Regions from separate parts of the Homo sapiens genome. Here region 1 is linked to region 2. The links are contacts of gene promoters, found by promoter capture Hi-C in blood cells and fetal thymus (Javierre and others, 2016). All regions are on one chromosome and are shown on one strand. The core of a region is centred on a gene start or on the middle of the fragment in contact, and the rest is flanking DNA. Distances in the headings are between cores, read along the strand shown. Region 1 overlaps ZNF106 (zinc finger protein 106). Region 2 holds the start of VPS39 (VPS39 subunit of HOPS complex).

Region 1 (3,037 bases), core at 224-2,723, 260 kb after region 2:
GCATTGAAGGTTAAGCGTGAAAATATTCAGTCTTGGCCGGGCACAGTGGCTCATGCCTGTAATCCCAGCACTTTGGGAGGCTGAGGCAGGTGGATCATGTGGTCGAGTTTGAGACCAGCCTAGCTAACATGGTGAAACCCCATCTCTACTAAAAATACAAAATCCAAAAAAAAAAACCAAACCACTAACTGGGCTGGTGGTGAACGCCTGTAATCCCAGCTACTTGGGAGGCTAAGGCAGGAGAATCGCTTGAACCTGGGAAGGCGGAGGTTGCAGTGAGCTGGTATCACGCCACTGCACTCCAGCCTGGGCAACAAGAGTGAGACTCTGTCTCAAAAAACAAACAAACAAACAAAATATTTAGTCTTGCCCTCTCGGAGTGACAAATAATCAAGTGGTCAAAGTGGGATTCAAACCCAGGCAGATCTGACACCAAAGCTAATGCTTCAAACACCATGTCACACTGTAAGCATTTGGTGCATTGAAATTTTTCATTATATACAGTTCATTTGTCAAAAACAATACAACACAACCCACTGTTACTTAAAGTTATCTACTATAGTGTGATAAACAGGGTTGTGATTCAAAACGCCTTTTTTTTTTTTTTTTTTTTTTTTTGAGACGGAGTCTCGCTCTATCGCCCAGCCTGGAGAGCAGCGGCTCGATCTCGGCTCACGACAACCTCTGCCTCCAGGGTTTCAAGAGTTTCTCCTGCCTCAGCCTCCTGAGTAGCCTCGATTACAGGCATGCGCCACTATGCCCAGCTAATTTTTTGTATTTTTAGTAGAGATGGGGTTTCACCATGTTGGCCAGGCTGGTCTCAAACTCCTGACCTCAGGTGATCCACCCACCTCAGCCTCCCAAAGTTCTGGGATTACAGGCATGAGCCACTGTGCCCAGCCAAAACACTTCTTTTAAATGGCAATTTTACTGAAGATTACCATCGTTTCCTTCCTAGCTCTACAGATGCTTCATAAGGAGAGAGTAGGCCAGGTGCGGTGGCTCACGCCTATAATCCCAGCACTTTGGGAGGCTGAGGTGGGCGGATCAAAAGGTCAGGAGTTCGAGACCAGCCTGACCAACATGGTGATACCCCGTCTCTACTAAAAGTACAAAAATTAGCCAGGCATGGCAGCGCGTGCCTGTAATCCCAGCTACTCAGAAGGCTGAGGCAGGAGAATCGCTTGAACCCAGGAGGCGGAGGTTGCAGTGAGCCAAGATCGCGCCATTGCACTCCAGCCTGGAGACAGAGCAAGACTCCGTCTCAAAAAAAATAAAAAATAAAAAAATAAGGAGAGAGTAGCTTTACACATGACCTCTTCTAGCCACAACTGACTGGCCGCTAACTAAAATTAACACTTGTGGACCTGAAAACTAAGACAAGTTAGTGACAGAATAGAATGAAAAATCGATTAATATACACATCTTCGGTGGGGCACGGTGGCTCACGCCTATAATCCCAGCACTTTGGGAGACGGAGGCGGGTGGATCACCTGAGGTTAGGAGTTCGAGACCAGCCTGACCAACATGGTGAAACCCCGTCTCTACTAAAAATACAAATTAGCTGGGCGTGGTGGCGCATGCCTGTAATCCCAGCTACTCAGGAGGCTGAAGCAGGAGGATCACTTGAACCCAGGAGGTGGAGGTTGCAGTGAGCCGAGGTCACACCATTGCACTCCAGCCTGGGCGACAAGAGCAAAACGCCGTCTAAAAAAAAAAACTTCTCAAGTCCTGTTATTCAATGCTTCCTGTTATTCAATTCCTCCTTGATTTAGATGCTTACCAATATGCCTAATCCCCTTTACTTGAGCTAAATTTAAGTGAGTTCTGTTCCTTACAACAAAACCATTCCTGACCAAAACAGCATTCACTGAAATGGGTTTGTCTGACAAAAAAACTGATTCTTCTTACTATAAAAATGTTATCACCCACTAATAGTTTTAATGTGACTTTTGTTTTTTTTAAAACACTTCACTAATCTTGTCCTAAATTTACATGCAAAACCTTCTCCCATCCTGCTCCAAGGAATGAATACAAACATTGAGACAACTGAGCTTTCAAAAATCATTAGAAAAAATTCAGCCAGACATGGTGGCTCACACCTGTAATTACGCCCAGTACTTTGGGAGGTCAAGGTGGAAGGATCACTTGAGCCTAGGAGTTCAAGATCAGTGTGGGCAACCTAATAAGACATCATCCCTACAAAAAAAAATTTTTAATTAAAAAATAGCACATGCCTGTAGTCCCAGCTACTCAGGAGGCTGAGACGGGAGCATCACCTGAGCCTGGGACACAGAGGTTGCAGTGAGCTGAGATGGCTCCACTGCACTCCAGCCTAGACAGCAGGGTAAGACCCTGTCTCAAAATGAAACAAAACAACAACAAAAAAAAAAAAAGAAAAAAAAGAAAGAAAGAAAAGAAAAAAGATCCACAGGCACAGGATTAAGGTAATAGCCCCAAATGCATTCCTTCTCATGTATTAGGCTTCTATTTAGGCCTTGTATATTAATCAGTATTATATTTTTAAAGGCTGGGTTGGTTGGAGGGGAGGGGGGACTCATGGTTAAACACATGTGGAAAACATTGAATAATACAAAAAATATGACCAGGTGTAGTGGCTCACACTTGAGGCCAGGAGTTCAAGACCGGCTGGGCAACACAGTAAGACTCCATCTCTATTATACACATATATTTAACTCCAGGGCTTCTCAGTATTTTATGTTAATGGGCCTCAGGATACTCAGGGATACCTTACACAGCTTTTCCCCATACTCAAGTCACTTAGAACCTTTTCTCCTCCATAGTTTATTTGGAGAAACCAGAGTTACACTAGTTTGGGAAATTGGAGACAAGCATGGCTTCAACACCAATTGTTCATAGTCCTATCTGAAAATAAGTATCAGTTATCCCTTCCAACTAACCCATTTTGTTACTTTCTTAAGTCATACCACTCACTTAAAGCAGGCCATTCCCTTGCTTTAAAAAAAAATAAAAAGGCAAAAAATAAAAATAAAAACTACAACCAGCTTTTCCTTTT
Region 2 (2,904 bases), core at 57-2,556:
CTGCTTACTGTGGAGGTATGATTTTAAAGAGACCCAGAGCTGCTAAAGGAGGAAGGGTGCACATTAACATGAAAATTCTTCGTGAAAGAACCCTACAGAAGAAGTCATCAAGAACTCTGCAAGGATGACTCGGTGACACTGTGAACAGCTGACGCACATGGTATCAGACACCACCAAGATTCCATAAGGCCCATCATGGTTACCTATCTAGCTCAGTATAAGATCTGATTAAGGGATCTGAATCATCTTTTTATGGTCCTTGATTTCTAGGACCTAAACATTAAGAGGAAAGTTAGAAATGATTTCCTTGGTCTTTGGCGGCTGGTATCAAACCAGTCACTCACGGATAAGAGCACAATGTTCACCGTTATCCCTGAAACCTTCATTTGTATTTCAGAGCACACAAGAGATGTCTGTCCCGGCCTTCTGCACTAGTCAATCCCAAAAGGACTATGCTAGTTTTTATGGGTTAGGTTTCAAGACAGTCTGGAAACTCTTCCGCCTACAGTTAGGTAACTTGGACACTTTGGATATAAGGTAATCAACCGCTTGGCTAGATTCAAAGGTTAGCTAACTACATGAGTTCCCTACAGGAATGAGAAATGAACGAATGATCACTAAGGGGAAAAAAAAGCATATGGTGTTAACTTGTTCAATGCCCCCAAAACCAGGGTTGACTTTCATCTAGAAAACAACACAAACATCTGGACAACTTCAAGCCCCTGGCAGGCTGAGAACTTCTTACTGCTTTGACCCTCTAAAATGAAGTCTTCGTGGGAATCAAAATGGGCCAAAGCTGAGCACAACTAAAAAGGAAAGCTCATCCTCCCACTCTGCACAGAGAGCAAAAGCAAGGGGAACTCCCCTAAATGACTGGATCACTGGGATCACCCAAGTAGCCCCACAGACATCGATGTCTATAGCCGGTGGTCATCTCTCTGCCTTCTCTCATCCTAAGCCCCTCTCGTGTAGCATCCAACCGAAGCCCACACGGATGGACGCCTGTCCACTTCCCCGGCCTCAGAAAAGATCCGGACCGCTCCTGTGCTGACTCCGCCTCGGCCCCGCGGCCCCTCGGCTCACCCCAGGCAGCCAGACAGTCGATTTGCAGAGGCAGCTTTTCTAGGATCGGCACTGGCTCGAAAGCGTCGTGCATGGCGGCAAGGGGAGAGTTGCCACCGCCGTCTCGCCCAGAGTGTTCCGGGCCGGGCTGGGGTCCGGAACGAGTCTGGGCTAAGGGTAGACCGGGATCCGGCCAGGAACCCCCCGGCTACAGGCCCTTCAACAACACAGCCATCGTCAACCCCGGACTTCCTGCTAGTTAGGCCCGCCTCTTCCGCAGCCGAAGTCCCGCCCCTTCCTCCCGGTGCACTCTAAATGAATTGTTTTGTTGCTGAGTTGCCATCGTCACTCTGGACCCATAGCTACTCCATCCCGAGTAGCCATGGGCTTACCATAGAAGGAACAAACTCTTAATCTTAGAACTGCTTTAGGCAGTGGGCGTGATGGTTAAAAACTCGGCCTTTGGCGTCGACCTCAGACGGAGATCTACCAATTAGGAAATTAGCTGTGATTTAGAAAATTTAATATTTCGATGCCATACTTTCCTAATCTGCAAAATTTTTGTAAATACCTGTGACCTAGTGTCGTGAGCGCTTAGCAACACCTGACACCCACTAAGCTCTCAGTAAGTGGTAGCTTTAGTATTACCATTATATCCCAATTAGTACAAGCACCTTACCTTAATGCTTTCATGGTTGTTCTAGGCCAGTGGTTCTGAAAGTGGTTCTAGACCAGCAACAACAGCAGTAGCAGCAGCACCTGTGAACTTGTTAGAAATGCAAAGTTTCAGGCCCATTCCAGTTCTACTGAATCTGAAACTCGAAGGGAACAGCAACCTATGTTTTAATAAACCCCAAGGTGAGTCCATGCACTTAAAAGCTTGAGAACCACCATTTTAGGTTAGGGTTGTTCAGCGATAGCACTACCGGCATTTAGGACAGGATAATTTCTTGTTGGGGGAGGGGGCATGTTCTGTACAATGTAAGATGTTTAACAGCATCCCTAACTTCCACCCACCAAATGCCAGTTATCTTCCCCACAGAGGTATAAAAATGTCTCTTTTCCGTATGTCCTCTGGGAGGCAAAATTACCCTGAGAACCACCATTTGAGGCCAATGCTTTTCAAATTTAACGTGCATACAAATCACCTAGAGACATTGTTAAAATGCCTCTTTTGATTCAGTAGGACCAGAGTAAGACCCTCAGTTGAGCACCAAAAATCTCCCAGATGTTGCTGGTCCCTGGATCACATTTTGAGTAGCAAGAGTTTAGGCAAGAGATGATTCACTAACTCTTGGAAGTCAGTGAAATAAGCCTCCTTTTAATTTGATGACCACATTCCTACCAATTCAACTTTCCAAAGCTGTGTCTTACATCCTAATATTCCTTTAGGAAGGTGTCATGGCTTTTCCTCCTATAGGACCTGGGACCTGTACTGTCTGCGGTTACCTTAGTATTCCCCTTGAAGACTTAAAAAACAACAAAGTTTGGGCTGCAAGAATGATCTATATCTGGTCATTTCCCCCTAGGAAAACATCGTAGGTCAAAAAATTAAGCATTTGGGTTTAAAGCAAAAATGTAAAAGAAAAAGGGTAAGTCTGTGATATGAAGTCAAAAAAACTGGTCCTGGTCATTTTATTTTTACACAATATCAGTTTCTTCATATGTAAATTAGGAATACTTGTCCCATCTTTACCAAATGCTGTTCTGATAATCAAGTGAAAAGTACTTTCAAGTAGTCAAAAACATGAAAATTGCTACACAAATCCTGTGTTATAGCTGATTTTCACCATAGAAGCTGATCACCTTCTTAAAAATTTAGAATTACCAGCTGTTGTGCTG

The links. The method cuts DNA at HindIII sites, captures the fragments that hold promoters and counts their contacts. A CHiCAGO score of 5 or more calls a contact.
Region 1: a contact is called between a fragment that was not itself captured here and the fragment with the promoter of VPS39 in region 2, in 2 of 17 cell types (megakaryocytes and endothelial precursors). The highest score is 5.7, in megakaryocytes.

Annotation. Positions count from the first base shown.
Region 1 is chr15:42,467,476-42,470,512 of GRCh38, forward strand. The region is part of intron 2 of ZNF106 (zinc finger protein 106); the gene reads right to left. Among named protein-coding and RNA genes, the nearest start is that of ZNF106, 22 kb to the right of the region's middle. The HindIII fragment of the contact is 6,354 bases long and covers 1-3,037 here.
Region 2 is chr15:42,206,998-42,209,901 of GRCh38, forward strand. VPS39 (VPS39 subunit of HOPS complex) reads right to left here and starts at 1,307. Exons shown (of 25, transcript NM_015289.5): 1 at 1,084-1,307. The coding sequence starts at 1,156. It overlaps VPS39-DT (VPS39 divergent transcript), which reads left to right and starts at 1,404. Exons shown (of 3, transcript XR_932181.3): 1 at 1,404-1,687; 2 at 1,767-1,920. The HindIII fragment of the contact is 2,996 bases long and covers 1-1,939 here.